Linked DNA regions of Homo sapiens: regions 2 and 3 are each linked to region 1. Evidence: promoter capture Hi-C in 16 types of primary human blood cells and fetal thymus (Javierre and others, 2016). All regions are on one chromosome and are shown on one strand. The core of a region is centred on a gene start or on the middle of the fragment in contact, and the rest is flanking DNA. Distances in the headings are between cores, read along the strand shown. Region 1 holds the start of OR4C16 (olfactory receptor family 4 subfamily C member 16). Region 2 has its middle 170 kb from the start of OR4A5. Region 3 holds the start of OR5T2 (olfactory receptor family 5 subfamily T member 2).

Region 1 (4,702 bases), core at 1,286-3,785:
GTCTTGTTTTGGTCCTCTTTAAAAGGTTGTTTTATAATCAACTATAAAACTCTAACAGGTGCTAGTGAATGGAGTTTTCTAACAACTTTGGAAATTGTGACATCAGAATAGAGGAAAAACTTTCAGGGATCATGGAGTGCTAAAATATTCATGACTATCAAGCAGAACAGGAATTAACTACATCGACTGAACCAATCTATTAGACTTTTTGCCTAAAGTGTTTGCTAATCCTGTGTTTTGTCTTTGAGGTCTTAAAAATTTTCTTTGGAGCTAGTAACAGCTTTTAACAATTTAGTATACTCCTATGAAAAAATTTGGAGCATATTTGTTCCTCTCTAACTAATTTCTCCAGAATTTGGAAACTATTTGTGTGTAGTCTTAATTTATGGCAGTACAGTTATTTACATAAGTGTAATAAGCATCTGTTTTCATTTATAACATGACACGATTGGAGTAACTGGTTATTTTACCAAGGTTTTAACTGGAATGGTGCCTGTTTCTTTAAGGAATCAAACTTGACTTAAGGAGCCAATAAATCCGCTTGGGAAACTGGCCTTATATCACCTTTGTCCACACAGTTTCTGTACAGGGTTCTTAACATGTGGTAAGAATGTCACTTTCTGACATGTTGACAAGCCCCAAGTTTATCTTGGAACCTCAAGAGTAGAGGATCACCCAACTCATAGATGTTTGATGGCACAAATCCTTGGCTGGCCTCAGTTTTTAAAAAGTCTCACCTGAAATTTCTTCTATGGAACTAAGTTCCATCAAAGCCAATTTAAAAGCATTTGTAAAAGAATAATTATTCTTCCTGCACTATATACAAATAATCAGGCCAAATGTAGTAAAGCAAACCAGTCCCCAAAATTAGAAGGGATCAATTAGGACCATAAAGTCATTTTACAAAAAGAATAATTACATGACTACAACACAAACTGTGAGAGTCTTCCTAAGATCAAGAACTCTTTCAGAAGGGTAAATTTTCTTTCTTTGTTCTGTCATGGTTTTAGAAGTATCTAGGTAAACTTATAGAAAGATTTCAGCATACAGCTCAAAAAATTGGAAGGGAGATTTCCTAGGTCATATATATTGTCTCTTGCAACATGAAGCTCCTACAATTACTGAAATATGGTACTTCCTGTTGAGTCAGGAAGAACAACTAAGTTGATCATGAGGTATGAAGAATCCAATGTGTCTAATAAAGAAAACCATTAAGAAGGGGAAAAATCCTATTGGACTGTTTATATTTAGATGGGTAAATATTAGCAGGGAATTCCAGAAGTCAACATGGAGAAGAACAGGCAAACTACAGACCTAAACCATAAGTGACACTAAGCAGGCAGGAGGACCAGAGACACAGGAGTGAATAGCACTGAAGGCAATGAGCTTTACATACTAGTTTGTATTGCATGCTGTCTTTTCTGCCACATAAAACTGACTCAACATTAACCATTGTTATTTGTTTACACTGTCTCTTTTCCCAAAGGAACTAATCCTCATGTACCAAGGCAGGATTACATTAAATCAACAATAAAAATATAATATTCTCATTGATTTCTTCTAGGTCACTCCAAACTATAAAGAAGGATTTGAAACCTTCATTTATCTTTTGTCATCTGTGATCAATTTCTTGCTCCAAAGCTTCCTCATGGCACTTTTCACTTCTGTATTCTTCAGCGTGTAAATCACAGGGTTGAGAAAAGATGTTCCAACTGTATAAAATACAGCTATCATCTTATCCATGGGGAATACGGTTGCAAGGCATGTGTACATAAATATGCAAGGTCCAAAGAACAAGATGACCACAATGATGTGGGAGACACATGTGGAAAGTGCTTTCTTTATCACTTCAGCACTGTGGTTTCTCAGAGAATGCAAGAAGATGACATAGGAGAATATTAGCATGACATAACTCACTGCACAAATGGCCCCACTATTGGAAACCAGGAGTAGGTTAACCACATAGGTTTCTGAACAGGCTTGTTTCAACAAGGGCTGCAAGTCACAGAAACAGTGATTGATCACATTGGGGCCACAGAATGGCAAACTCAGGGCAAGAAAAATCTGAACTAAAGAATGCACACAGGATCCCACCCAGGCCACAGCCATCAAAACACCACAGACCCACTGGCTTATGATGGTCATGTAGTGCAGGGGCTTACAGATGTCCACATAGCGGTCAACAGCCGTGAGGATGAGGATGAAGATCTCCAGGCAGCCAAAGACATGGGATGAAAAGACTTGGATCATGCACTCGCTGAAGGAGATAGTTGTCTTCTTCAAAAGGGCATCCACAATCATTCTAGGGGTTATGGAAGTAGAGAGGCAAGTATCAGATAAGGATAAGTAGAAAAGGAAGAAGAACATTGGGTTCTTAAGTGCCTGGCTGGTCTTGACACTAATAATGATTAGCAAATTACCCAACAGTGTTCCCAAGTAGAGACGCAAAAAAATAACAAACACTATTTTCTTCCAAAAAGGATCCTGTGTCAATCCAAGCAGAATGAACTCAGTCACATTATTATTCAGTTGCATGGTTTTCGTGAGTGAGGTGAAGGGGCAAGTGTGAAATGGTCTACCTGCAAAAAAAAAAGGAATTAATTTATGCTGTGCTATGTGATGTTATGGAATATTTTATGCAAAATTAAATATTTCTTATTGGATACATTCTGGTGGCGGTTTCTTAATAAGCCACTTCAACACTTTCTTCCAAATTTTAATGACCACTTCATAGGGTTATTATGATTCTCAAATATGCTTATGAACATGATACCTTGCTATAGCATTCTTCAAGTACAAGCCTTGGTTAGCTTTGGCATCATTCTGATTAATTTTTCCAATTCAAGGAAGGTAAATGTAAGAGGTAATGATCCATTTTAATATTAAATTTCATTTTATAATTTTCAATAAATACTGAGGGCCATTTTTTATGTTGTGTATCACTCAACATTTAAGATATATTTAGCTGCTCTTTGAGTTTTACAATATGAAGTCCTATGCCACCACCACCCTGTAGATAATATCTTATTAATACATAGTTTATACATTCCATATTCATTATATATATTTATATAGATGTTATTTATTAATACCTTGTATGCTCCACTTCTCTGCAAAATTTCTCCCAGATATTCCAGATTATAAAAAGTAAACGAAAACACTTATAGCCTCTAAATAATCTGTTGCTACCTTGATGTGTCCTTATAACATTTTGTCCTGACATATACTAATAAACAGGAATGAATGTTCTTTGAAAATTAGTTATCTCTTTAATATCCCCCTTTCTAATTTTCTTCCTTTAATTTATTGAAAGCATCCCTAGAACACACAGAGTTTCTGAGGTTACATTTAAATAAGATGAGGGTGGGGTACAGTATTACTACTCAACTGTTTGTTTTCACAATTCAAACTAAATATTAGAATCATGAAAACAAGAAAGCATTTTATAAGTGGGGTGGTTTGAAGTGTTATCATTGAACCAGATCATGTTTGTAATCCCCAGAAGAGTTTTCATTATCCTGATATTCAAAAACTGCACATTCCTGGAACAGAGCAGAGATTTGGAGGAAAGAAGGTGATGTGGTTTTAGAGAAGAGAGAGTAGATACTAAATACCTTCTTCATTCAATTTATTTTCTATCATGGAAAAGTCAGTGCTTCAACTTTGAAATGTCACTTTTCCCAGTGAAGATCAGTTTTTAAGAATATATGGAAACTAATATTATCACAAGGCTTCTCTTTCAAGAAAAATAAATTCTCTACATTTTTGTTGTCAAGATGACACTAGACAGTACATAATATGCAAGTAGAAATATAAACCAAAGTGTAATTTATTTAAATATAGTCTGGAAGCCCATTGTGTTTCTCCACTGTTTGAAATGCTTGTTCCCTGGTGTTATAAAAGAAATAGCTCTTGAACACAAATTGAATTTATTTAGAAAGGTCATTTTTTACTTCCTCCAGAAAGGGTACACTCGCCAGCAGTTTTGCCACGAGAGTACACCGAACAAAGGAGACAGGGTCATTTATAACCTGACAACTGCTGTGTCCGTTTTCCATTGGCTGGAACAGGACCTCATTCTGTATTTGTCCATATTGGCTAGCAACTCAGAAGTTTTTAAAAGAGGCAAAGGCAGAGGAGAAAAAGGAAGCAGGAAGTAACTTGTGGAATGCTGACAAAGGTAAAAACACTTTTAAATAAGAAAGAGGAACAGGCTATGACCTAATGCTTGCTTGGATCAGTATAAGCATGCCAGGGCAAATATTTAGGAGTGCAGGTCTTTAAACAAAATTTGCTTCGAAGAGAAGTTACTATTTATTCCTAATTAGATGGGGAGTAAAGTCTTTGAAGAGGAACTTCTACTTTTAGTTTTTACATCCACAATTCAATCAATACCTTCAAAACATTGGTGAAAGTTACAAGTTGGCCAAAACAGAATAAAATAGACAAAACAGACACAAAATTCCCTTTATATATACTTCTTCCTCTCTCCAGATTCCTCTCCTTCTTCTCCTCACCAGATTTGAAATATCCCTTATCTTCCTCCAAATAAAAAAAAAAATACTCCCAGGAAAGTGTCTGATGAAGTTGTTCACTTTGGTGTGCTAAGAATAAAAAAGTATATATGTATATCTTATATACATATATATTTTATATATATACACTTTATATACATATATATACTTTATATATATATCTTTTG
Region 2 (4,702 bases), core at 1,060-3,559, 690 kb after region 1:
GTCCATTTCGTGAATGAACATTTGGGAGCTCATAGAGGCCAATGGCAAAAAGGTGAGTATCCCAGGATAAAAACTGGAACTTTTCTCTGACAGGAAGGAACACATTTCTGATGTGTGCATTCATCTTACAGTTAAAACTTTCTTTTCATTCAGCAGATTGCAAACACTCTTTTCTTATAATCTGTGACAAGATATTTGGAAGAGTATGGAGGCCTATGCTGGAAAAGGAAATATCTTCAGATAAAAACTAGAAAGAATCTTCATTAGAAACAGGTTTGGGATGTGTGCATTCATCTCACAGAGTTAAACATTTCTTTGGAGTCAGCAGTTTGATAACACAGCTTTTGACAATTCTGTGAATGGACATTTGGGAGCTCAATGAGGCCAATGGCAAAAAGGGGAATATCCCAGGATAAAAACTGAAGGAAGCTCTCTAAGAAACCACTTTTTGATGTGTGCATTCATCTGGCATAGTTAAACCCTTCTTTTCATTCAGCAGTTGGGAAACAATGTTTTTGTAGTAACTATTAAAGGATATTTGGCAGTGCATTGAGGCCTATGGTGAAAAAGGAAATATCTTCAGATAAAACTAGAAAGAAGCTTAATGAGAAACTGGTTTTGGATGTGTGCATTCATCTCAGAGAGTTAAACCTTTCTTTGGATTCAGCAGTTTGGTAACACTGTTTTTGTCAATTTGGAGAAAGGACATTTGGGAGCTTAAAGGCCAATGGTGAAAAAACGAGTATCCCAAGATAAAAACTAGGAGGAAGCTATCCGAGAAAGCACTTTGTGATGTGTACCTTCATCTAGCAGAGTTAAACCTTTCTTTTTGTTCAGCAGTGTGGAAACACTGTTTATGCATAAACTTTGAAAGGATATTTGGCAGTGCATGGAGGCCTACAGTGAAAATGGAAATATGTTTAGATAATATCTAGAAAGAAGCTTTCTGAGAATCTGCTTTGTGACATGTTCATTCATCTCACATGGTTAAACCTTCCTTTGGTTTCAGCAGTTTGGAAACACTGATTTCTTAGAATCTGCAAAGAGATATTTCATAGAGACTGAGGGCTATGGTGAAAAGGAAATATCTTCAGATAAAAACTGGAAAGAAGCTTAATGAGAAACTGGTTTGGGATGTGTGCATTCACAACACAGAGTTAAAATTTTATTTTTATTCAGCAGTTTGGAAACTGTTTTCTTAGCATCTGTGAAAACATATTTGGTAGCGCATTGAGGGCTATGGTGAATCGGCAATATCTTCAGTTAAAAACTAAAAAGAAGCTTTATAAGAAACTGATTTCTGATGTGTTCTTTCATCTCACAGAGTTAAACCTTTCTTCGAATTCAGCAGTTTTAGAACACTGTTTTTGTGCATTCTGCAAATGGACAATTGGGAGCTCATTGAGGCCAAAGATGAAAAAGCTAATATCCCAGGATAAAAACTAGAAGGAAGCTGTCTGAGAAACTGATTTGTGATGTGTGCATTCATCTCGCAGAGTTAAACTTTTCTTTTCATTCAGCAGTTTGGAAATACTCTTTTTGTAGAAACTGCAAAATGATATTTGTCAGTGCAATGAGGCCTATGGTGAAAAAGGAAATATCTTCAGATAAAACCTAGCAAGAAGCTTTCTGAGAAACTACTTTGTGATGTGTTCATTCATCTCACAGAGTTAAACCTTTCTTTTGATACAGCAGTTTGGGAACACTGTTTTTGTCTATTCTGGGAATGGACATTTGGGAGCTCATTGAGGCCAATGGCAAAAAAGCGAATATCCTAAGATAAAAAGTAGAAGTAAGTTATCTGAGAATACGATTAGTGATGTGTGCATTCTTCTCACAGAGTTAAAACTTTCTTTTCATTCTGCAGTTTGGAAACACTGTTTGCCTAGCATCTGCGAAGAGATATTTGGTAGCCCATTGAGGCCTATGGTGAAAAAGGAAATATCTTCAGATAAAAACTAGAAAGAAGCTTAATTAGAAATTGCTTTGGGATGTGTGCATTTATCTCACAGAGTTAAACCTTTCTTTGGATTCTGCACTTTGGCGACACTGTTTTTGTCCATTCTGCAAATGTACATTAGGGAGCTCATTGAGGCCAATGGCGAAAAAGCAAATATCCCAGGATAAAAAGTAGAAGGAAGCTATCTTAGAAACTGCTTTGTGATATGTGAATTCATCTCTGAGAGTTAAAGCATCCTTTACTTCAACAGTTTGGGAACATTGTTTTTGTAGAATCTTTGAAGGTATATTTTGGAGAGCACATTGGACTATGGTGAAAAAGGATATATCTTCAGATAAAACCTACAAAGAATCTTTCTGATAAACTGCTTTGTGATGTGTGCATTCATCTAAAGGAGTTCAACATTTCAGTGGATTAAGCAGTTTGCAAACAATGTTTCTGTGCACTCAGAAATTGAACATTTTAAGCTCATCGAGGCCAATGGCAAAAAGCATATATCCCAGGATGAAACTAGAGGGAAGCTATTTGAGAAACTGCTTTGTGATTTGTGCATTCGTCTCATAGAGTTAAAATTTTATTTTCTTTCAGGACTTTGGAAACAGTGTTTTTGTAGATTCTGCAGAGGGATATCTGGGAGCACATGGAGGCCTACAGTTAAAAAGGAAATATTTTCAGATAAAAAATAGAAAGAAGCTTTCTGAGAAATTGAATTTTGATGTGTATTCATCTCACAGAGTTCAAACTTTCTGTGGGTTCAGTAGGTTGCATTCACTGCTTTTGTCTGTTCTGTGAATGGACATTTGAGAGTTATTTCAGATCAAAGGCAAAAAAAGCGAATATCCCAGAATAAAATCTAGAGGGAAGCTACTTAAGAAACTGCTTTGTGATGTGTGCATTCATCTCACACAGATAAAACTTTCTTTTCATTCGGCAGTCCAGAAACACTGTTTTGACAGAATCTGTGAAGGAATATTTAGGTGCGCAATGAGGCCTATGGTGAAAAGGAAATATCTTCAGATAACAAATAGAAAGAAGCTCTCTGAGAAACTGCATTGTGATGTGTGCATTAATCTCACAGAGTTAAACCTTTCTTTGTATTCAGCAGTTTGAAAACATTGTTGTTGTAGAATCTGCAAAGGGATATTTGGGAGCTAATTGAGGCCAATGGTGAAAAATCAAATATCCCAGGAAAAAAACTAGAAGAAATCAATCTGAGAAACTGCTTTGTGATGTGTGCATTCATCTAGCAGAGTTAAACCTTTCTTTTCATTCAGCAGTTTGGAAACACTGTTTTAGTAGAATCTGCGAAGGGATATCTGGGAGTGCATTGAGGCCAATGATGAAAAAGGAAATATCTTCAGATAAAAACTAGAAAGAATGTTTCTGAGAAACTACTTTGTGATGTGTGCCTTCATCTCACAGAGTTAAACCTTTCTTTCCATTCAGCAGTTTGAAAACACCGGTGTTTTAAAATCTGCAAAGGAAAATTTGGAAGCTTAATGGGGCCAAAGGAGAGAAATGGACTATCCCAGAGTAAAAACTAGAAGGAAGATATTTGAGAAATCGCTTGGTGATGTGAACATTCTTCTATCAGAATTGAAACATTCTTTTCATTCACCAGTTTGGTAACGTTGCTTTTCTTCAATCTGCAAAGGTATATATTGGAGTACATAGAGGCCTACAGTGAAAAAAGGAGATATCTTCAGATAAAAACTACAAAGAATCTTTCTGAGAAACTGCTTTGTGATCTGTGCATTCATCTCACAGAGTTCAACTTTTCTATGGATTAAGCAGTTTGCAAAAACTGTTTTTGTCCATTCTAAAAATGGATATTTTGAAGTTCATTGAAGCCAATGGCAAAAACGCAAATATCCCAGGATAAAAACTAGAGGGAAGCTATTTGAGAAGCCGCTTTGTGATATGTGCATTCATCTCTCAGAGTTAAACCTTTCTTTTCATTCAGGACTTTTGAAACACTTTTTTTTGAAGAATCTGAAAAGGAATATCTGGGAGTGTTTTGAGGCCTATGGTGAAAAAAAAATCTTCGGATAAAAAACTGAAAGACACTTTCTGAGAAACTGCATTGTGTTGTGTCCATTTATCTCACAGGGTTCAAATTTTCTGTGATTCAGTAGTTTGCAAACACTTTTTTTGTCCGTTCTGTGAATGGACATTTGGGAATTATTTCAGATCAATGGGGAAAAAGTGAATATCCCATGATAAATTCTAGAAGGGAGTTATTTGAGAAACTGCTTTGTGATGTGTGCATTGATCTCACAGAGATAAAATTTTCTTTAAATTCAGCAGTCTGGAAAGAGTATTTTGGCAGAATGGATGAAGGGATATTTGGGAGCTCCTTCTGGCCTATGGTGAAAAATGACATATCTTCAGATAAAAACAAGAAAGTAGCTTTCAGAGAAACTGCTTTGTTATGTGGGCATTCATCTCACAGAGTTAAACCTTTCTTTTCTTTTTTTCTTTTCCTTTTTGATTATGCTTTATGTTTTAGGGCACATGGGCACAAGGTGCAGGTTTGTCACATATGTATACATGTGCCCTGTTGGTGTGCTGCACCCATTAACTCTTCATTTAACATTAGGTATATCTCCTAATGCTATCCCTCCCCCCTCCACAACCATAGGTGGGAATTGAACAACGAGAACACATGGAAACAGGAAGGGGAACATAAACCTTTCTTTTCATTCAGCAGTTTGGAGACACTGTTTTTGTAGAATCTGTGAA
Region 3 (4,702 bases), core at 727-3,226, 660 kb before region 1:
AGCAAGAAGAAGTCAGTCATGGCAGATTTCTCTTACTGTCATAATTTTGCGAAGGTGGTTTCAGAATTTCAGGATTGTATAGTAATCCTGTTTTTAATGTTTCAAGGAACTTCCATACTATTTTCAATCATGGCTGCACTGTTTTATATTCTTGTCAACAGTACACCAGGGTTCCAATTTCTCCACATTCTTATCAATACTTTTTTTTTTTAAATAATGGCCATAACAGGTGTGTGATGATATCTCATTGTGGTTTTGATCTGCAATAATTAAAATCTCCATATTACCCAAAGGGGTCTTCAGATTTAATGCATTTCCTGCAAAATCCTAGTGCTGGGTTTTACAGAAATAGAAAAAACATCGTAAAAATTATGTGCAATTACAAAAGACTTCAAATAGCCAAAGGAATCTTGAGAAAGAAAAACAAAGCTAGAGGTATTATACTTTTTTATTTCAATGATATTACAAAACTACAGTAATTAAATAGCATGGGACTGGAATAAGGACAGATATATAGACCAACGGAACAGAATAGGGAGCCTGGAAACAATCCCACATGTATATAGTCAAATGATCTTTCACAAGTGTGCCAAGAATACACAATGGGAAATTAAATTGGACCCTTGTCTTATACCATATAAAATAACCAACCCAAAATGGATTAAAAATTTAAACATAAAACCTGAAACTACAATTTCTAGAAGAAAACATAAGGAAAAACTTTAGGACCTTCAGCTTGGCAGTAACTTGTTGGATGTAACATAAAAATACAAGCAATGACATAAAAAGCCAAGTAACAAAACCAAAATTAGACAAGTAGGGCTACGTCAAAGTCAAAATCTTCTGCACAATGAAGAAAACCATCAGCCAAACAAAAAATATTTGTAAATGATATATCTAATAGGGGATTAATATCAAAATATATAAATTCAATAGCCACAATAACAATAATCTTATTTTAAAACTGGCAAAGGACTTGAATACATTTTTTTTCCAAAGAAGACATACAAATGGCCTTCAGATGTATGAAAAGATGTTCAACATCAGTAGTCATCAGGGAAATTCAAATCTGACACATTTTAAACAGAAGCCAAAGAACTCTATTGATTCAATAAGTAGGAGCATGCAGTGCCTTATTCCGGAATCATTTACTTTTTATTATTAAGTAAATCATCATGGTGCTATTTTGAAACAGAAGATAATTGGGGCATATTCCCCTTGGGACATCTCCTTGGATTTCATCAACAGTCAATTACAAAGATATAAACAATCTAAGTTAGCCATATTCATAGAATACCTAAATCTGCATTTGCTGTTCCACAGGTAAGAGAAAATTTCAGATAATTTGAAGAATATTTCGGCAGCTAGAACCTACAATATCAAGAATAACTATGTTTTTTTTTACTAAACTTTTTAGCTGCTAAACACCAAGAACTAAACACTTCAGTTCTGGACTATTACATATGTGAATCAAGTGTATTCATCAAAATATGATTTATTTAGAGTTATGCCTAAGAATTAAAATCCAACACTTACTAGAAAACAATAAAAAATAGAAAATATTGTATTTGTACTTATAGAGATAAATAAGAGTGCTCCTAATAGAGTATATGCTTGTATTTTTCTTATAGATAAAGATAGTTCAAAGGTCATGAATTTACCAATAAATATCAACAAAGGGCAAAAAAACATTTGACTTATTCATTTATCTGGGGTCTTGTATTTTGAAGTAATAAGGAAAACAATCAATACTTATTTTAAATTTATTTTCTGGCTTTATAATCTAGAAGTCACTTCAGATTGCTACTTATTTTATGTTTCTCTAGATTTAATGGCTTAAAAAATACAAATACATCGAGAATCATGTTTTGCTTTACCTTTATTTCCCTGAGGTCAGCAGAGGGGTAAGAGGAAGAGTGTTCCAGTTGCAGAATGAAGCCATTTATGAGGCCATGAAAAAATGCAAAAATTTCATGTACAATGAGAGAAACCTGGGATTGAATCTTGGCTCTGGAAATTGTTAGCTATGAAAGTTGCTATAAAGGTGAAATAAGGTAATGTACAAGAAATGTCTGTTCTTGCAGCAAGTGCTAAATAAATGCCTGTTATTTAGCAAACTTAGTGTTTCGTTATTACATTCACGATATTTAAAGTTTTCTCCCTTCCATTAAAATTTGTTTCATAAAAATAGATTTGCATTAATTTAAAAAGTTGATTCTATATTATTAAATCTTCAAGAATCATAGTGATTTTCTCTTTATAACTCTGAATCTTTGACTATGTGCTAATATTAACTTAATTTTTACCCAATATAACTTATTTTGGCATCTAGTAGAAATGCCTGTCTCACAAGAAATTTGGTTGAAGTATCTTATTTGCACAAAGCAAAATTAAGACAATTGTAATGTAGAAAATGGAATCATGGTAATTTGCATGTTTATTTTTGGCATAAAATGATCAAGTAATTCACAAAACTTCTTCATTCTCCAAAGAATAATTCAGAGACATTTGAATGAGCAGATGAAAAAAATCATAACTGTTCATTGGATTTAATCTTGATAGAATGTAGAACCAACTTAATTCAGCATATTCTATAATCAAAATTATTTTACATATTATATTTTATTAATGCAATTTTCCTTCAATATTTACTCCAATCTTGTGAACAAACTATTAATGTTCTCATTCTATAGACAAGTAGATATAGCAAATCATTTTGCACAATTGCTACAAGTTCTAAAATTCTGGTATTGTATTCCAATGCTCTGTCCCCTGATACAGTCTCTTGTGTATTTGGATGCCCAAAGATTGTTTAAGCCACTCATTTTTGTGTGTTTTAATATTATTTAATATATAAACAGCTTAATACAATTCAGTGGTAAATTAACCAGTAGACCTGATGATTTTAGAAACAGAATAAGTCCAGCCAACTAATGAACGTCCATTTCTTCCATTTGATTCTGCAGTGAGTGGCATGAACACATGGCTGACCAGTTTGTCACTGTCTTCTGATTCACTACTAGAGAATTATGCACTGCTGAATATATGTCGTACAGTATATACAAGAGCACAGTTAACATCCCCTTGAGTCATGGTGTTGTTCATTCTTTTTGTCATAATATGAACTGTAACTTTATGCATATCTTCAAGTTTGTTCTAGATTTCAACATGAAGAATGTCACTGAAGTTACCTTATTTGTACTGAAGGGCTTCACAGACAATCTTGAACTGCAGACTATCTTCTTCTTCCTGTTTCTAGCAATCTACCTCTTCACTCTCATGGGAAATTTAGGACTGATTTTAGTGGTCATTAGGGATTCCCAGCTCCACAAACCCATGTACTATTTTCTGAGTATGTTGTCTTCTGTGGATGCCTGCTATTCCTCAGTTATTACCCCAAATATGTTAGTAGATTTTACGACAAAGAATAAAGTCATTTCATTCCTTGGATGTGTAGCACAGGTGTTTCTTGCTTGTAGTTTTGGAACCACAGAATGCTTTCTCTTGGCTGCAATGGCTTATGATCGCTATGTAGCCATCTACAACCCTCTCCTGTATTCAGTGAGCATGTCACCCAGAGTCTACATGCCACTCATCAATGCTTCCTATGTTGCTGGCATTTTACATGCTACTATACATACAGTGGCTACATTTAGCCTATCCTTCTGTGGAGCCAATGAAATTAGGCGTGTCTTTTGTGATATCCCTCCTCTCCTTGCTATTTCTTATTCTGACACTCACACAAACCAGCTTCTACTCTTCTACTTTGTGGGCTCTATCGAGCTGGTCACTATCCTGATTGTTCTGATCTCCTATGGTTTGATTCTGTTGGCCATTCTGAAGATGTATTCTGCTGAAGGGAGGAGAAAAGTCTTCTCCACATGTGGAGCTCACCTAACTGGAGTGTCAATTTATTATGGGACAATCCTCTTCATGTATGTGAGACCAAGTTCCAGCTATGCTTCGGACCATGACATGATAGTGTCAATATTTTACACCATTGTGATTCCCTTGCTGAATCCCGTCATCTACAGTTTGAGGAACAAAGATGTAAAAGACTCAATGAAAAAAATGTTTGGGAAAAATCAGGTTATCAATAAAGTATATTTTCATACTAAAAAATAAATTATAAAAGGTGAGGGTGATACTCTGCACCTCAATACCAAGAATGTGTCATTGTGGTGTTATGATATATGTTGGTTTCCATCCAGGGTTCCTGGCTCATAATTCCCATAGCCTTTGTTACAGTCTTTTGTTATAATGTTGGGTGTTATACCTCAGGGGCAGGCCTTTTACCTTCTCCTGCCCTCCTTTCACTTGCACCAAGGCTGGGTTCCAATGTCTGCCTTACTGATTGTGAATCTTAAGACTCTCCCATGAGAGAGTCCCACCCTATACCTTCGGGGAGGGAATGCTGATGCCTTGAAGCTTCCATAGAACCTAGGAGGATAGGGTTCAGTGAGCTTCTGGGGAGCAGAACAAATGGAAGTTCCTAGAGGGTGGCATGGTCAGGGAGGGCATGGAAACTCTGCACCCCTTTCCTTATACTTTGCCCTACACATCCCTTCACCAGTGTCCTTTGCAATATCCTTTTCAATAAGCCAGTAATATGTTTCCCTGAGTTTTGTGAGCTGCTTCAGTAATTTAATGAAACCCAAAGAGGGGGTCATGGGAGATCCAACTTGAAGCAGGTTGGTCAAAG

The links. The method cuts DNA at HindIII sites, captures the fragments that hold promoters and counts their contacts. A CHiCAGO score of 5 or more calls a contact.
Region 2: a contact is called between a fragment that was not itself captured here and the fragment with the promoter of OR4C16 in region 1, in 1 of 17 cell types (M0 macrophages). The highest score is 5.2, in M0 macrophages.
Region 3: the fragment with the promoter of OR5T2 here is called in contact with the fragment with the promoter of OR4C16 in region 1 in 5 of 17 cell types (monocytes, naive CD8 T cells, neutrophils and 2 more); the score reaches 5.9 in monocytes.

What each region holds. Positions count from the first base shown.
Region 1 is chr11:55,569,961-55,574,662 of GRCh38, reverse strand. OR4C16 (olfactory receptor family 4 subfamily C member 16) reads right to left here and starts at 2,535. Exons shown (of 1, transcript NM_001004701.2): 1 at 1,603-2,535. The coding sequence starts at 2,535. The coding sequence ends at 1,603. The HindIII fragment of the contact is 18,539 bases long and covers 1,644-4,702 here.
Region 2 is chr11:54,876,734-54,881,435 of GRCh38, reverse strand. No RefSeq gene overlaps it. Among named protein-coding and RNA genes, the nearest start is that of OR4A5, 170 kb to the right of the region's middle. The HindIII fragment of the contact is 684 bases long and covers 1,968-2,651 here.
Region 3 is chr11:56,231,529-56,236,230 of GRCh38, reverse strand. OR5T2 (olfactory receptor family 5 subfamily T member 2) reads left to right here and starts at 1,976. Exons shown (of 2, transcript NM_001004746.4): 1 at 1,976-2,054; 2 at 2,967-4,702. The coding sequence starts at 3,169. The coding sequence ends at 4,125. The HindIII fragment of the contact is 5,726 bases long and covers 1-4,430 here.